4 separate regions of the Homo sapiens genome follow, and all the other regions are linked to region 3. The links are contacts of gene promoters, found by promoter capture Hi-C in blood cells and fetal thymus (Javierre and others, 2016). All regions are on one chromosome and are shown on one strand. Each heading gives the region's core, a stretch centred on a gene start or on the middle of the fragment in contact. The rest is flanking DNA. Distances are from core to core; before and after follow the strand shown.

Region 1 (4,156 bases), core at 1,460-3,959, 550 kb after region 3:
CCACTTCAGAGCCACCCAGCCCCAAAGCTAGGCTGACCATGCAACTTGGCTGGCACCAGGGCAGGCCTGGACTATATATGGCCTGGATAAAGGCCAATGGCCTTGTCACTTTACATCCTGGATTTTCTGGGACGGTCTTGATTCCCCTTACCCTCTGGGATTGTTCTCTGCCCCCTCTGTCCCTTGCCCTCTGAGAGGTTGGAGCCCTTATCCAGGCCTCAGGGAAAGAGCTGCAGGCCAAGGAAGCATTACTTTTTATGGCTCTAAGTGCTTCTGACTAAATCCAGTCCCCTGATAACGGTGGCCTCTCAGAGCTGCTCCTTCCCTGCAGTTCAGCCTGATGTGAAGCTTGGGGAGGTGACCTTCTCCCTGCAACACGCGAGGCACTGCCAAGGGGCTGCTATGATGTGGGATCTGCAGAAATCCTTTGTTCCTAGTTGGCTTTCCATCTTTGCCTCTCTGTATCTCTCCCTGCCTGGCTGGTTTCTCTGAAGAGATCAGCTGGTTTCCACTGAAGAAGTATTTGCCTTCCTGGGCCACCATGGGGAAGAGTCTGATTAAGATTCACACCAGAGTCCGGGTCCAGCTCCGGCTGACTAATCACTGCTTTCGGCCCCTAAGTGTGCGCATCCTGAGGATGGGGCCCCGGCTCCAGGGTAGGGTCCTGACTGCTGTGACCCCCGGGCAAGGGAATCAGCTGGAGCATTTCCAAGGTAAAAAAGGCTCTCCTGTTTTGCTGTGCCAGTTAGCGCAGATCCTTCCCACGGCACCCATCCCATCTATCCCAAAATAACAGGTTCGATGAAATGGCAGGACAGGTGGTGGCTTTTACAGCAGTGAAAACAGTTTCTAATATAGGACTAACCTGATGTGGGAGGGTCACCTTACAGGTGAGATCTTCTGTTAAGGGAGGAGACCAACTGATATTTACTGAGCAACTGTATTTGTCAGGCATTCTACTAGAAATGCACATCTAATTGGATGTGGTGGCTCATGCCTGTAATCCCAGCACTTTGGGAGGCTGAGATGGGCAGATCACTTGAGGTCAGGAGCTCAGACCAGCCTGGCCAACATGGCGAAACCCCATCTCTACTAAAAATACAAAAATTAGCCGGGCATGGTGGTGGGCGCCTGTAATCCCAGCTACTCGCAGGGCTGAGGTGGGAGAATCACTTGAACCCGGGGGTCGGAGGCTGCAGTGAGCCGAGATTGCACCATTGCACTCCAGCCTGGGCAATGAGATGGAGTGAGATTCCATCTCAAAAAAAAAAAAAAAAAAGAAAAGAAAAAAAAAAAGAAATGCCTATCTATCCATTATCTTGTTTAATGAGAGCACCAACAGCTCCCAGTATGATGTGGCTCCAGGTGGTCCTCTGACATTTTCCTCTTCTGATGTCACAGCATCTGCCTCTCCTTCCCCACAAGCTGAGGGGTGTAATCGTAGGTTAAGCTAAGCTTTTCATACTTTGAAAGATCCTGCAGTCAGAGCTGTCTTCATGAAGGGGCAGGCCTTTGAAAGGGTGGCAGGCGCCCTATGCAATGGGGCTGAGGACTGCCTGGGAAAGGAGCCAAGCAAGCAATATGCTGCAACCAGGGCCTTAAGGTTTCTGCTTTATCAGTGACCCATAACCTGTCCCAAGGTACATATTCCTCAAGCTGCATGTGCAAATGGGGACATCAGGGAGGAATACTGTGGAAGAGAGATCAGAGGAACAGCAAGAGCTCTAGAACAAGGGACAGAGACTCTTAATTTCAGGTTATTTCAAAACAGTTTCTCGAGCAATTAAGACCTAAATCTAAGGTAGATGCTGGCTGTTGATTTAATCCGTCCTGGCCCATGGTTCCATTCCATGGAATCCGACTACAGTTAAGTCATCACTTAACAGCGTTGACAGGGTCTTTAGAAACTGCAACTTTAAGCAAAATGATGTACAATTAAACTTTTTTTTTTCTCATCAACATTATAACAAAATGGGGCTGGGCGTGGTGGCTCACATCTGTAATCCCAGCACAAAAACCTGTCTCTACAAAAAATACGAAAATTAGCTAGGCGTGGTGGCACATGCCTGTAGTCCCAGCTACTCAGGAGGCTGAGGTGGGAGGATCACCTGAGCCTGGGAGGTCGAGGCTGCAGTGAGCCGTGATTGTACCACTGCACTCCAGTCTAGGCAATGGAGTAAGACTGTCTCAAAAAACTAAAGAACTTTAAAAAAATTATAACAAAATGATGCTGAAGAAAACATTGGAGGACCTGCTGTAACATCATTTGGCTTAAAGTCATGGTTTCCAGGAACCTGTTGACAACATGAGGACTTAATAGATATGATCAGCAGGATCATGAACTAGAAAGCGGCTTGGATTCTATCCTTGGTTTTGCCATTAACTGCCAACCACATGACTTCAGATAACCTCTTGCCCTCACTACCTTGTGGAGTTACTGAAAGATAAAATCAAAGTGCTTTAAAAAGATGAAAGCATTATACAAATTTAAGATTTTAGCACAGGGACAAAAAATACAGCTAAGACTATGAGGAGCTTCTGAAAGCAGAGATTGAGAGCTGTGGCAAATATATGAGCCGTGACGCAATGGGGAGCGTAACTAGATGGCAGGTGCCCTGCCTTTGCCCCCACCCTCTCTCCCCATTGTCCTACTCATTCATAACCCAGATTCCAGGGCTCATTCCTCTGGAGAATCCTTAACTGTGCCTGTGCCAAGACAGGCTCCACAAGGCTGGTCAGGCAGGCTGCCTGGGTGCAAACGGCCAAGCCATGAGGGAGCCAAGGAAGATGGGACACACTGCTTCTGAAAGGTTACTAACACCTTTTTAAGAGAGACCTTTGGACTGCTTCATGTCCTGGAAGAAGGGGAAAAAAGAGACCCTTTGGGCTTCTGGAGCTAGCCCTGAACCAAAAAACTCCCTAATCAACCTGACTTAGGTAAAACCTTTACTGAGCTGGGAATCTGGTTCAGTCTGGGATTGTCAGGGACTATTTCAGGGCAACAGAAGGGGACTGGCTTTTCTTGTCATAGGTCACAAAGGCAGAGAGAACCACACCAGCATCACCAAGATGGCCAGGAGTGGAAAATGCAGACATTGAGCCTAAAACAAGAAGCCATTTCCTTGGGAGCACTGTGATGGGGGCCGCGCTCACTCACTATATGCCCAAAGCCTCTGGCCTGGGTGGCTGCTGTTCAGTTGAGAGTGTAACCAGCTCCTGTTTTCCCTGCCAGGGCTTGAGTCCTGTGAGAACCTTGGGAAGAGAGAAGAGATAATGGGTAGTTTTAGGGGATAGAATACCCCTTCCTCCTACCAAATGTAAGAGAAATCCACCCCCGCAACAAGATCTTCTCAAACTGTTTTGTGCTCTGAAGTGTCTAAAGATAGGGGAGCTTTTCAGCCTATTCTAGACCCAGCTCCTTCTCAGAGGAAAAGAGAGGGAGCTGGCCAGGGACTACTCCCATGCCCCCTCAAGAAGAGCAGAGAGAGTTTCTACCCCATCATTCCACAAAGTCAGAACAGCTAGAACGGAGGCTGAAGAGACTGAGAGCAGCTGCAGAAATCCAAAAATATTGACCTTATAAGCTCAAGATGCTGTATGCTGGGTTTTTACAAGGATATTCGGTATTTGATGAAACCCAGTTAGGCATGACATATTCCCCTTCTCCCCATTCCTACCTCTCTTTTATTAAAAATTTTATAGTTACAGTGTCTATGTTGCCCAGCCTGGTCTTGAACCCTTTGGCTCAAGTGATCCACCTGCCTTGGCCTCCCAAAGTGCTGGGATTACAGATGGGAGCCATCGTGTCTGGCCCATTCCTGCCTCTTAAAGCCCTCCACCCAACAGGCAGACTTGAGACTCAAACCGTGGTCCCAGCTCTGCATCAGGGGTAGTTTGGAATTCAGATTCTTTCAAACTGGGGTAAAAACCAGGCCCAGAGTTCAGAGTTCAACAACAAGCTTCCAAGATGCCGCCCAAAGGAAAAAGTGGTTCTGGAAAAGCGGGGAAAGGGGGTGCAGCCTCTGGGAGTGACAGTGCTGACAAGAAGGCTCAAGGTCCCAAAGGTGGTGGCAATGCAGTAAAGGTCAGACACATTCTATGGGAAAAACATGGCAAAATCATGGAAGCCATGGAAAAGTTAAAGTCTGGGATGAGA
Region 2 (4,807 bases), core at 714-3,213, 580 kb after region 3:
GGCCTTTTCTCCATTCTTTTAACTTCTCTGCAAAAGGCTCTGTCAACCTCCCATCCTTGAAACTCATCTCTTGGCTTCCAAAACATACTATTCTGATCTTCTTCCCACTTTTTTGCTTCAGTTTTCTTTGCTAAATCCTATCACCTCCTATCCCCACTCACATCTTATCAAAATAAGGGAGAATCTATGATCCCAAAATAAGAACTTGGTTTCTGTCTTCAAACTTGCAAATTTTGTTTATAAACCCCAACCAACTTCAAGTCACCACTATTTCTTCACCTTCATTAATTGTCCTTATGGCATTTTTCATGTCTTTGGTCTTCTTCCCCAATAAGAAAATAAATTCAGAGAACATTAACTTGACTTTTCTCAATTTTGTAATAACAGACAGTATTTCATGCAGAATTATATGCACAATGAATGGAATTCAGTATCTATTTCTGACTCATCAAAGATAACTAAAATCATTCCAAAGCAGGTCCCTGGGAAGATATTTTGATACAGCTTAGAAACTGTTTCTTAGTCCATTTGGGATGCTAAAACAACATACCATAAACTGAGTGGCTTATCAACAGCAGCATTTTATTTCTCACAGTCCTGGTGACTAGGAAGACCAAGATCAAGCTTCCAGTTCATTCAGTGTCTGGTAAGGGCCTACTTTCTGGTTCATAGTTGGTGCCTTCTAGCTGTGTCCTCATATGGTAGAAGGGACAGTGGTCTCTCCTGGGTTTCTTTTATAAGGGCACTAATCTTATTCATGACCTAATCACCTCCCAAAGGTCCTACCTCCTAATACCATAGGGATTAGTATTTCAACATATGAATTTTGGGGAAGACAAAAACATTCAGACCATAGCAGACCATATTTTAAACACAACTAGAAAACTAAACTTCGGGCTGGGCGCCGTGGCTCATGCCTGTAATCCCAGCACTTTGGGAGGCCAAGGCAGGCAGATCACGAGGTCAGGAGATCAAGACCATGGGGAAACCCCACCTCTACTAAAAATAGAAAAAATTAGCCAGGCATGGTGGCAGGCGCCTGTAGTCCCAGCTACTCGGGAGGTTGAGGCAAGAGAATGGCGTGAACCTGAGAGGCGGAGCTTGCAGTGAGCCGAGATCACACCACTGCACTCCAGCCTGGGCGACAGAGCAAGACTCCCTCTCCAAAAAAAGAAAACTAAACTTTGATCTTTTTTTTTTTTTTTTTTTTTTTTTTTACACAGAGTCTCGCTCTGTCGCCCAGGCTGGAGTGCAGTGGTGCGATCTCGGCTCACTGCAAGCTCCCCCTCCCAGGTTCACGCCATTCTCCTGCTTCAGCCTCCCGAGTAGCTGGGACTACAGGCACCTGCCACCACGCCTAGCTAATTTGTTCCATTTTTAGTAGCGATGGGGTTTTTTAGTAGAGACGCGGTTTCACTGTGTTAGCCAGGACGGTCTCGATCTCCTGACTTCGTGATCCACCCGCCTCGGCCTCCCAAAGTGCTGGGATTACAGGCGTGAGCCACCGCTCCCAGCCCTTTTTTTTTTTTTGAGACGGAGTCTTACTCTATCACCCAGGCTGGATGGCACAGTGTCGACTCACTCCAACCTCCGTCTCCTGGGTTCAAGCAATTCTCCTGCCTCAGCCTCCTGAGTAGCTGGGATTACAGGCACCTACCACCACGCCCAGCTAATTTTTGTATTTTTTTACTACAGACGGGGTTTCACCATGTTGGCCAGGCTGGTCTCGAACTCCTGACCTCAGGTGATCCGACCGCCTCAGCCTCTCAAAGTGCTGGCATTACAGGCGTGACCCACCGCACCCGGCCACTTTAAATGTATATGTGAAAAGATCACACAAAGTGTAACAAAGTTTTCTGGCAGTTAATTTATGACCAGATGGTTAATGATATTCAAGCTAAAAATATTAAAGTTCTATAAAGCAAATTTAAATTCTTCCAGATTTCTAAAATTTGGAATCATAAAGCATCATAAAGCCCAAAATTGTAAGTCTCACGCAACATTTATAAACACATGGCTCTAGCCTATTCTCTTCCAGCCTATTTGCTTTAGTCAAACTATAATATATTCAAGAAATTTAATAACTTACCAAATCACAAAGTCCAACTTGCCCAAATTTGGCCCCAACTGCTACCAAAGTTCTAGTTTCTGATGGATGGAGAGCCATAGAGAATATTGGGCCTGTGGTAACTTTGTAAACGGTATCTTCACTAATGACCATGCCATTTAAATTGGCTTTGTAGCTAAGAAAATTACAAAGTTAAATTTTGTAAGTAAAACCAATCTCAATAGTCAAAATAAGTAAAAGATTATTCAAAAAGAAAAATCACAATTAGCAAATAAATATGGGAACTATTCAATCTCCTGGTAACCAAGGAAATCAAATTAAGCAATATTCTTTCACTTTTTAAATTACCCTTGATAATTTTAATAACACCAAAAGCTGGTAGGCTGCAGTTAAATACACATACTCACACATATTGCTAGTGGAAGAGTAAGTTCATATAAAATGTTCAGAAGAAAAAAAAAGACCTTTGAGCAACAATTCGGCAATGTGTACTAAAAGCCATAAAAATGTTCACAATATTTGATGCATTAATCTCACTTCTGGAAATCTAACCTAAAGAAATAATCCACTATCATATCCATATACTTCAACAAACACATACACAAACACACAAAGCTAAATGGAAAACAACCGCAAATACCAAGCAGGTAGGAGGAGAAGTGAACTCCTTCTACTCAATGGAATATTTTATAATTATTCAATAATTTTAAAGACTCTAGTAACATGCAACCGCAAATGAAAAAAAACATAACGCAGGCCAGGCACACTGGCTCACACCTGTAATCCCAGCACTTTGGGAGTCCAAGGCAGACAGCTCACTTGAGCCCAGGTATTCAAGACCAACCTGGGCAACACAGCAAAATCTCATCTCTACAAATACAAAAATTAGTGAGATGTGATGGTGCACGCCTGTAGTCCAAGCTACTTGGGAGGCTGAGGTGGGAGGATCATTTGAGCCCAGGAAGCGAAGGTTGCAATGAGCCAAGATAGTGCCACTGCACTGCAGCCTAAGCGATAGAGGGAGACCTTGTCTCAAAAAACAAAAAAAAAAAAAAAAAAAAAGAAAAAGAAAAAAGTGTAATGCAAAATTGTATATACATTACAACATATAGTAAAAATGTATGTGGATTCACTCATTTATTCAACACTGAACATATATTATGTGCCAGGCACTGTTCTGGTTATTGAAATAGAATTCTTGCTTATATCCTAGTGGTATTGTATATGAAGCTTATATCCTAGTGGTATTGTATATGGCAACACTTGTGAGGAAATACACAAAAACAACAGTTGTTAGGGTGGAAACATTTCATCTCACTTTCAAAATTCCCTAAAATGGCGTATAGTCTTTATAACTCAAACATCTCAAAAAATATAAAAGAAACACAAGGAATTTCAACTTACCTTTTAATGCTAGATAATCCCTTCTCAGTGTTCTTACTACTTGGCTGAAACATTGGGAGAGATGAAAGAACTAAGTTAGTATGTATATATTTTTACATATATATATATTTCCTTAACAGATGATTCTAAAGGCTATTGGCCTTCCCAAGTGATACCTTGCTCATTCCTGCCCATGTGTGCAGAAATCCTTTAAATCGTTCATTGTTGTCTTCTTGATTTTCAGAAGTCATTTCTAAAGGCCCAGGAGGTAACAAAGGCTGTTATAAAAAATAAAAAGTTATTTGTTGGGCTCCCTGCCCTAGAATATAAACACAAGGAGGGCAAGGGTATTTGTCTGTTTTCCCCACAACTTCACTTTCAACATCAACAGTAATGGTGGCATATCATGGACATTCAAAATAATTGTTCAATAAATGAATGCCAGGTACCCTATAAAGTAATAATAACATGTATTATCTCATTTAATCCTCTCAACAACCTAGCAAATGAGGTATCACATTTTAAAGACAGTGGATTGAAACTTAGAGACTGTAATCCCAGCACTTTGGCAGGCCGAGGCAGGCGGATCACAAGGTCAGGAGTTCGAGACCAGCCTGGCCAATATGGTGAAATCCCATCTCTACTAAAAATACAAAAATTTGCTGGGCGTGGTGGCAGGCACCTGTAATCCCAGCAGCTCAGGAGGCTGAGGCAGGAGAATCGTGTGAACCCAGGTGTTGGAGGTTGCAGTGAGCCAAGACTGCACTATTGCACTCCAGCCTGGGTGACAGGGCAAGACTCCATCTCAAAAAAAAACAAAAAACAAAAACAAAAAAACCCCAGAAACTTAAGAGGAGTTAACTTGCCCAAAGTCACACAGCCAATAACTGGAGAAGCTGAGAATTGACTCAGATTATCTTAACTCATTACTCAGTATTATACCTACATCAGTATTTTTTTAAACAGTTTGTAACCAATTAGTGGGTGAGAAATCATGTTAGTATGTCACAACTAGCAATTTGTTGTAGTGAATGAGAATAGAATAGAAATACCAGGCCAGGTACATGGCTCACACCTGTGATCCCTGCACTTTGGGAGGCTGAGGCAGGCAAATAGCTTGAGGCCAGAAGTTCCAGACCAGCCTGGCCAACATGGCGAAACCCCATTTCTACTAAAAATACAAAAATTAGCCATGCGTGGGCCGGGTGCGGTGGCTCATACCTGTAATCCTAGCATTTTGGGAGGCCGAGGCGGGCAGATCATGAGGTCAGATTGAGACCATCCTGGCTAACGCAGTGAAACCCCATCTCTACTAAAAATACAAAAAAATTAGCCGGGCGTGGTGGCAGGTGCCTA
Region 3 (4,445 bases), core at 86-2,585:
ATTAATAAATTCCGAAAACACCAACAGCCTCCTTATTACTTCTCTTTATGAACAATTGGTCTGCAATGTAATTTAAAAAAAAGGAAAGAAAAAGTAAAGAAATATAGTAAAACTAGCTTTAACACGCCATTTCCCTTTTCTAAGAATAAAAAATGGACCAGGAACGAAAATTTAAAACTGGGCGAAGAATGGGGAGACAAAGCAATCTACAATTTGAAAATTACACAGATAAATCCATCATTTCAAGTCACTAATTTGTATACCCACTGAAGAAATTCATCTTGGTACTGCGTTACCAGCATTAGGAAGATAAATCCCTGCCTCGGAGGAACATCTACTGAGTACGTTTCATTTCAGGATCTCAGGTAAGTTTACGAGCTCTTAGATCTCTTTAGGTTTCCCTAAGGTACGCTGAAGTGTTTAACATCATTCACACATCCAGCCACCACTAGGGTGAGAAGTAAATAAACAAGATTTACTTATGCAATTATTTACCACAGAACTCTGGTCAAGAATGCAAAAGTAAACACCCATACAGACATTTAAAATCCAAAGAAAGCAGAGAATATTAAGGATAATAAGGTTCACTCTTTAACTGACCACTGTGGAAACCAGACGCCTTCCACATGGACTGTTCTTTACTACCACTCCCGATTTGAAAAAGTAACAATGTCAACTCGAGATTTTAACAGTACAAAAGATAAACAGAACTTAGTCAAATCCCTTCTTCCAGATTCTGAAAAGGTGTTTATAAGAACTGAGATAAGAGCAACGCCCCCCTAAAAGCACCCTACTCCAAAGAATGAAATGCTGAAAACATGAGGTGGGCCAAAAAGGTTAAAAAAAGCTAAACTTCTAACTTAATTACCCAGAGGTTGGGGACTAGGAACTTGAGATCGGAGTGGGGGTGGGTAGCAAAGTGAAATCTAACCCCAGAAATCACAACGCAGGCCGCAACCTAAGAGGTGAAGCTGGCGGGAAGTGAGCTCCCTTTCTGTTCCCAGGGGAAAGTCCAGACAGGAGCGGCTCCGCACAGTGGACGTACGAGGCGCCAAAGAGTGCATGCCTACCAAGGCGCCAGAGCCGCTGGAGGACCAGGTTTAGAAGGGGAGGAGATCCCGGCAGACGGCCCTGGAAGAGGAGGAGGACTGAGATTGGAAGCAGCGGCGGCGTCTGGACGAAGGGGATTACCTAACTGTGACGACAGAGAAGTGTCCTCAGGCTCCGGCGATGGTCCCGACTGCGCAATGTGTGGTGTCTTTCCCGCTTACCCCGCAGCAGCAACAGAACCAGCTCCTTCAGCCAGTCGCCATTTCCCGCCTACCGACCTGCTGCACCGCACGGACAGGGACCCGGATGGAAAGCGGCCTCTCCGCGCAGGCGCCCTGACTTCCTCCTCCCCCTCCCGCCACAATTCCGCGAGGTGGGAGGGAAGGAATGCGGGCAGCCACAACGGCAACAACAACCAAAAAAACACTTTTACTTCCGTGAAGAGCGTTGAAGTTCCTTACGCCGGAAGAAACTCTCTAGTCTGAATCCTGGAGAAAAACTGAACACAAGGCCTTAGTACTGGGTCGATTAAGAAAGGACAAAACCTATCAGGATGAGCAAGGGCCTGGGGGATATTTGTACATTAGGGGCCTCCGTAGCCGGCTGTGTAGTGGTCGCAGGGGGAGTAGGGAGTAAAGCGTTAGGAGTGGAGAGGCGGGGACCCGAAGGACGGTTTTTCCTCCCGCTCCTAACGGAACTGCTTGGGCAGAGCTGGGAGGGGGAGCGCGCCCTTGCCCCGGAGGCGGGGCTTAGGAACGCGTAGTGCACCCTGGCGGCTAGGGTTTAGTAACTGTGGGCGCGCTGGGTAGGTGGAGCTGAGGGGATAAGGCGGGACTAACGGCTTGGCGCGCTGGAGGAGGTAGTTCGTAGGGAGAGCTGCCTGAGGCCGGGAGAAAGCGAATCTGGCGCCTTTCCTGGGATTTCGGTGGCCCTTGAAGGTTCCCTTTCCAGCTCATTGCCTAGAGGGCGTAGCAGTCGCTTTTGGATCATAAATATTCATGCCCTTCGACTCAACCCTATGTTGGCGGTGATTCTGCAGGTTGAAAACTCGGATCTTTCAGGCCAGTGGGCTCCCACCTGCGACCCTAGGTCAAAGGACGGTCAGCTCCACAGAGTGAAAATGTATCAGTCCAGAGAATCCAGTTCTAGTGGGGTATCGGAAAACCAAGCCTAGTGTTTGGAAGAACATTTTTCACTGAAACTCCAAGCCACTCTCCTTATTCAATCAAGAAATATTTATTGAAAAAATAACTAGGTGCGACGGGTAAAACAGTGAGCCAGGCAGACACGGATACTGCCTTCCCCAAAGGTAATGATTTTTTTTTTTTTTCGAGACGGAGTCTTCACTCTGTCGCCCAGGATGGAGTGCAGTGGCGCGATCTCGGCTCAAACCTCCACCTCCCGGGTTCAAGCGATTCTTCTGCCTCAGCCCCCCGAGAAGCTGGGATTACAGGCGCGCGCCACCACGACCGGCTAATTTTTGTATTTTTAGTAGAGACGGGGTTTCACCACGTTGGTCAGGCTGGTCTCGTACTCCTGACCTCGTGATCCGCCCGCTTCGGCCTCCCAAAGTGCTGGTATTACAGGCGTGAGCCACCGCGCCCGGCCAAAGATCATAATCTATTGAAGAAGACACCCAAGTAAACAGAATTTAAAAACTGATAAAGCGAATACAAGGATGGCATGATAGGCGTTGTAAAACACATGAGAGTGCCGGCGAGGGGGTCTGGGAAGGTTTCGTAAGATAACATCTGAGACAAAAAGGAGGAGTGTGTGTTGCAGGGGAAGAGTGTCTGGGTAAAGGAAACAACAGACGGAAAAGTCCAAAGATGAGACTGTGTTGAGCCATTGGAGAAGTAGTTCTGTGCGCTAAGAAAAGAGGATGGGAGGGCAGGGGGAAGATGGCAAGAGAGGCTGAGAAGTAAGCAGAAATAACATACCGTTGTGAATCTCATTATTTCGAAGTATGGAGCAGGTGGGTTGTCTTCTGAAAACCTTGTATACTACAGATTCTTCTGTCAGAGTTCATTTGCACCCTAAATCTTCCTAGTGCAAAAATGCTCTGAATGCGACATTTATTGGGAGCTGGTGGTATACACAGCACAGAACTATTAATAGTAACAGTCCACACACACAAAAATAGATTCCTGAAAAGTTCAATGGAATCCAACAAATAATTAGTTTATCCAGAGTGTATCATGGAAAGCAGTAAAATACCAACTAAACAGTTACCCCATTATTACTAAAGTTTATTTTATTTATTTATTTATTTTTAGAGACAGGGTCTCACTCCATTCCCCAGGCTGAAGTAATTAAAGCTCATTGCAACCTCAAAATCCATGGTTCAAGCCATCTTCCTGCCTTGGCCTCCCAAAGTGCTGGGATTACGGGCCTGAGCTACTGCACACAGCCCCTAAAGTTTTGTTTTGCTTTTTGTTTAGAGACAAGGACTTCCTCTGTACCCCTGGCTTGAGTGCAGTGGCATGATCATAACTCACTGCATCCTTAAACACCTGGGCTCAAGTGATCCTCCCACCTCAGCCTCCCAGTACCGAGGACTGGCTAATAAAGTTATTTTTAAATCAGGTAAAAATTAGAAATATTTCTGGGGGAAAAAATTTCCAAGAAATCGTTATTTCAAACCTTCACGTTCCTAAAACTTAAGTAAAATACGCTATTTCCAAAGAGCACTTTTATATGCATTTTGATTCTCTAACAACCCTATGAGGTAGGTAAAATAGGTGGTATTTGTTCCCTGCCTTTCAGTTGAAGACACTGAAATTTGAAAAAAGAAGAAAAACATGCCATATCCAAAGACAGTCACAATCATCTAGTAAGAAATATAATAGAGACTCAAGCCCCTATTCTGCTCATTATACCACCTCTTATGGCAATATTATTACCATTGTTACATTTGGTAAGTTTAGGGCCAGGCCATAATCACAGCACTTTGGTAGGGTGAGGTGGGAGGATCATTGTATCTCAGGTTCAAGACCAGCCTTGGCAACATAGTGAGACCTTATCTCTATTAAAAAAAAAATAAGTTTAGAAAGGTTGCTGATAGTAAGCCTAAGTCCATTTGCAATTTTTAACATTTTAACACCATTTTTTCACAAGGGATAATTGTTATGTTCTGCTTTTTACCTTAATTTATATCCCATGGTCTCTCTCCTAGCCTCCTTTTCTGCAATATCTAAGTGAATTGTTGTGAAGATCAAATTAGATTATTTACGAAAGCACTTAGCAAGATGCTTTCCTTGCTCCTTAAATGGTAGTAGTTAATTACTACTTAAAGTAGTAATTAACTACTTAGTAGGTAGTAGTTAACTACTACCTTAAATGGTAGTAGTTAATGTCTTGAAGCTTCCGTAACAATCTAGTCCAAAATTTTAGAA
Region 4 (4,708 bases), core at 1,436-3,935, 980 kb before region 3:
CTTGGCTCACTGCAACCTCCACCTCCCGGGTTCAAGCGATTCTCCTGCCTCAGCCTCCTGAGTAGCTGGGATTACAGGCATGCGCCACCACGCCTGGCTAATTTTTTGCATTTTTAGTAGAAATGGGGTTTCTCCATGCCAGCCAGGTTGGTTTCTAATTCCTGACCTCAGGTGATCTGCCTGCCTCGGCCTCCCAAAGTGCTGGGATTACAGGTGTAAGCCACCATGCCCAGTCAAAATTGTTTTTTAATTTTTTTTTAAAGACACAGGATCTCGCTCTGTTGCCCAAGCTGCAGTGCAGTGGTGCAATCATAGCTCACTGCAGCCTCGATCTCCTGGGTGTCCTGGGGTCAAGCCTCAAGTGATCCTCCTGAGTAGCTAGGACCATAAGCACGTGCTACCACACCTGGCTAATTTAAAAAAATTTTTTGTAGGCCAGGCATGGTGGCTCATGACTATAATCCCACCATTTTAGGAGGCCGAGTTGGAGGACTGTTTAAGCCCAGGAGTTCAAGGCCAGCTTGAGTAGCACAGTGGGACTCTATCTCTACAAAAAATTTAAAAATTAGCCAGGCGTGGTGGTATGCACCTGTAGTCCCAGCTACTTGGTGGGGCACTGAGGCAGAAGGACTGCTTGAGCCCAGGAGTTCAAGGGTGCAGTGAGCTGTGTTTGTGACACAATACTCCAGCCTGGGTGACAGAGCAAACATGTGTCAAAATAATTTTTTTAAATAGAGATGGGGAGTCTTACTTTGTTGCCCAGTCTGGTCTTGAACTCTTGGCCTCAAGAGATCCTCCTGTCTCGGCCTTCTAAAGTGCTAAGACTATAGGTTATACACTTTTTTCCCCCCGGACACGGTTTCTCTGTTGCCCAGGCTGTCGTGCAGTGGTGGGATCTTGGCTCACTGCAACCTCTGCCTCCCGGGTTCAAGTGATTCTCCTGCCTCAGCCTTCCGAGTAGCTGGGATTATGGGCACCTGCCAGCATGCCCAGCTAATTTTTGTATTTTTAGTAGAGACGGGGTTTCACCATGTTGGCCAGGCTGGTCTTGAACTCCTGACCTCAGGTGATCCACCCACCTCAACCTCCTAAAATGCTGAGATTATAGGTATGAGCCACTGCGCCCAGCCTTAGATTATAAACTTATTTTTTTTTAAATAGCGACAAGGGCTTGCTATGTTGCCCAGGCTGGTTTTGAACTCCTGAACTCAAGCAATCCTCCTCCCTTGGCCTCCCAAAGTGCTGGGATTATAGACATAAGCCACCACACCCAGCCTTAGGTTATAAACTCTTTAAAGCAAAAACAAAGAGAGGGTCGAGGTGGGAAATTATAAAAACCAGTTTAGACATCCACAGAAGTCCAATTAAATAAGGACTGAAAAGCAATCATTGGATTTAGATGTTAGGATCACATTAGTGATAGGAGCAAGAGCAGTTTCAGCGCAGTATGTTGTCATCATAAATGCACAGAATGTTAATCTGTAATATCCTACTGGATTAAGTAGATTATCTGTCTTACCTGTTTTAACTTCAGTTTTACATCTTCAAGGCCACCAATCTCCTCCCAGTCAACAGGCTTGATATCCATTAATCCAATGACGCTTCGAAACGATGAGGGCTGAATATTTTTAAAAGCTTCAAGGAAGTCTATTTCATCAATCACAGGATTGTCCTGGTTCTGAAGAAATACACCCAAAAAAGCAAAATCAAACCAAAAATTAGGTTGGTCTTTTTTTATAGCACAATTTGTTTTTAAAATCTTCTTTTGGATTTGTAAAGTTATTTTGTTATCATTATAAAAACAATTTATATACATAGTACAAAGAATTAAATGTCTCCCTGCCAATTCCTGCCAGTAATTCTTCCCCGAAAGATGTCAAGAGTTTGTGTATTTTTCCAGTATGTTATGCTAGTAAGCATACATATATCCTTTTAAACAGATACACAAATGGAACCATACTATATCAGCCTGTACTTTTCTTCTTTCACCTATCTTAGAGAGCTTTTCATGTCAACTAACACAGTTCTACGTCATTCTTTTTGACAATTCCATAATACACTACTGAATTTACCCCAACTACACCTTTCTGACAAACGTTAGGTCATCCCCAGTCTTTAGATATTAAAAACAAAGCTGCAACTGAAAAAGTCTTTGTGCTCATGTTCAAGTATTTGTTTATTTTGAGACAGGGTCTCACTCTGTTACCCAGGCTGGAATGCAGTGATGTTATCATAGCTCACTGCAGTCTCCCAGGCTCAAGTAATCCTTGCACCTCACCCTCCGGAGTAGCTAGAACTACAGGTATGTGCCACCAGCCTGGCTAATTAAAAAAATATATATATTTTTTTTTTGTAGAGATGCGGTCTCCCTATGTTGCCCAGGCTGGTCTGGAACTCATGGGCTCGAGCGATCCTCCCACCTCAGCCTCCCAAAGTGCTGGGATTACAGGCATGAGCCACCATGTTCAAACTCATGTTCAAGTATTTTATGTAATAATTTCCTCAAAGTAGAATTACTGGGTTTACAAGTACACACATATACAATTTTGACAGCTATTACCAAATTGTCCTCTAAGGAAGCTGCAACAATTTATTCTTCTCCGATAATATGAAGCTGTGTTCTCTCCACACCTCTCCAGTACAGACATTATCAAACTCTTTTTTTTTTTTTTTTTGGCGGGGTCTCACTCTGTCACCCAGGTTGGAGTGCAGTGCTGTGATCTTGGCTCCCTGCAGCCTCCGCCTCCTGGGTTCAAATGATTCTCGTGCCTCAGCCTACCGAGTAGCTGGGATTTATAGGCATGAGCCACCACACCTGACTAATTTTTGTATTTTTAGCAGAGACGGGGTTTCCCCATGTTGGCCAGGCTGGTCTTGAACTCCTGACCTCAACTGACCCACCCATCTCAGCCTCCCAAAGTGCTGGGATTATAGGTGTGAGCCACCGCACGTGGCCCATTTCCAAACTCTTAAATGTCTGCCAATATGACAGGAAGAACCAGTACTCATTCATTACTGTGTTAACTAAATTTCTTCAATTCAAAATGAGGTAGAGGGAATATTGGAATTAAAAAAATCGCCCGTCTTGCAATCATGATAGTAAAGGCTGTTATGAGCAAGAATTGGATGCTATGTTGAGGGGAGTAAAAGTTTATTCATTTATGAGACAGGGTCTTGCTCTGCTGCCCAGGCTGGAGTGCAGTGGCATTGAGGCAACAGCTCATTGAGCCTCGAACACCTGGGCTCAAGTGATCATTCTATCTCAGCCTCCTGAGCAGCTGGGACTACAGGTGTAAGCCACTGTGCCCAGCCTGAAAGTTTGATGAGGAGCAGGATATCTCAAAGTGTCTCCCCACAGATTTCTCATTAGTGGCAAAGGGAAAAATAGCAGTTCCACAGTGGAGAAACTGCGCACTGCCTGAACTAGTTGATAAAAGTTAGCATCACCAATGAGGAACCAATGTACACTCTGTGCCTCTACATGTGAGGCTCTAAGGACACAACACTATACATCACCATACTGTGGTGACATATGGGAACATTTCTGTTCTTAGGAAATAGACATTAAAATGTTAAGGGATAAAGTGTCATGATATATGCAACCCATTCTCTCAAATAGTCCAAAATAAATAAATACTATGTGCATATAAATACATATATATGGAGATGACAGAGAGAGAGAGAAAGAGAAGAGGAGAGGGAGCAAGGAGAGCAAAAGAGAATGATAAAGCTTATTTGGCAAAAAGTTAAAAATTGGTGAATTTGGATAAAGGGTTTAGTGGAAGTTCTTTGTAACTATCTTGCAACTTTCCTATAAGTTTTAATTATTTCAAAATAAAGACAATAATTTTAGAAGAAATCAAGGTTGAACATCTTTCATGTTTATTGTCATTCCTTTTATTGTCAACTACCTGTTCATACCCCATTACCCATTTTCTCTTGGACTGTTGGTCTTTTCTTACTGATTTGTAAGATTTGTTCATTCCCTATCAAGGAAATTGGACTAAAAGTATTTTTCCTAGTCTGACTACTTTATAGTATTGTTTTGCCACCCCCAAATGGTCAACTCAGCAAATAATCTCTTTTTTGGCTATTAAGGTTTATGTTATGCCTAGAGAAGTCGTCTTCACTCTCAGGTTATATTTTGGAGACTCTTTACATTCTCCTTGATCATTCTAGTGAAACACATTTTTTTTTGTTAGTTAAAAAGTCCTGAAAATTTTATTAAAAATATCTGTACTGTATTTATTAAAGTATTTGCCCTCTTATATCCAATTCTAAACATCTAGTTGTCCACAAATTCCCGTTTTCAAAAACAAACTGTCTTTTCTTATTTGTAAACAGATGTTAAGTGAATCTGTATGTATAGAGCTATTCTGTAAAGTATTCTCCCAAAAGTGTTAACAATTGTCATCTCTGGAAAGTGAGATTTCAGGTAGGCAGTTCTTTATAATTTTCTATCTTCATTTCTCATGAATAACCCTATTATATACTTAAAAAAAAGCCTTTTTAACTGGCTGATAGTATGTTAGGTGTCTGATGTCCAAATATTAACTAATCTTTAGGTAACACGAACTAATATTTGAAAATCTCATTTATAGTTCAAGATCATGTGTGTACACATTATTTTACTTGATTCTTTGGGCTTATACATTCTTTCCCCTCTGTGTGTGTCTGAGTGTTAAACTACAGTTCTAATCCTTTAATA

Evidence for each region. The method cuts DNA at HindIII sites, captures the fragments that hold promoters and counts their contacts. A CHiCAGO score of 5 or more calls a contact.
Region 1: a contact is called between a fragment that was not itself captured here and the fragment with the promoter of CTDSPL2 in region 3, in 1 of 17 cell types (endothelial precursors). The highest score is 5.6, in endothelial precursors.
Region 2: a fragment that was not itself captured here is called in contact with the fragment with the promoter of CTDSPL2 in region 3 in 2 of 17 cell types (erythroblasts and endothelial precursors); the score reaches 6.3 in erythroblasts.
Region 4: a contact is called between a fragment that was not itself captured here and the fragment with the promoter of CTDSPL2 in region 3, in 1 of 17 cell types (neutrophils). The highest score is 5.7, in neutrophils.

What each region holds. Positions count from the first base shown.
Region 1 is chr15:43,876,056-43,880,211 of GRCh38, reverse strand. All of the region lies in intron 13 of FRMD5 (FERM domain containing 5), which reads left to right. It also overlaps the pseudogene PIN4P1. Among named protein-coding and RNA genes, the nearest start is that of WDR76, 51 kb to the right of the region's middle. RefSeq lists an enhancer at 1-1,163. The HindIII fragment of the contact is 2,504 bases long and covers 1,458-3,961 here.
Region 2 is chr15:43,841,337-43,846,143 of GRCh38, reverse strand. WDR76 (WD repeat domain 76) reads right to left here. Exons shown (of 13, transcript NM_024908.4): 6 at 3,628-3,729; 7 at 3,473-3,516; 8 at 2,090-2,243. Among named protein-coding and RNA genes, the nearest start is that of WDR76, 17 kb to the right of the region's middle. The HindIII fragment of the contact is 2,674 bases long and covers 627-3,300 here.
Region 3 is chr15:44,424,519-44,428,963 of GRCh38, reverse strand. It overlaps CTDSPL2 (CTD small phosphatase like 2), which reads right to left and starts at 1,335. Exons shown (of 13, transcript NM_016396.3): 1 at 1,192-1,335. LOC124903479 (a long non-coding RNA gene) reads right to left here. Exons shown (of 3, transcript XR_007064605.1): 2 at 2,991-3,197; 3 at 2,647-2,670. RefSeq lists enhancers at 611-1,217, 1,282-1,661, 1,218-1,825, 1,942-2,171, 1,826-2,433. The HindIII fragment of the contact is 7,080 bases long and covers 1-4,415 here.
Region 4 is chr15:45,407,342-45,412,049 of GRCh38, reverse strand. It overlaps AFG2B (AAA ATPase AFG2B), which reads right to left. Exons shown (of 8, transcript NM_024063.3): 3 at 1,520-1,678. Among named protein-coding and RNA genes, the nearest start is that of AFG2B, 7.4 kb to the right of the region's middle. The HindIII fragment of the contact is 2,095 bases long and covers 1,638-3,732 here.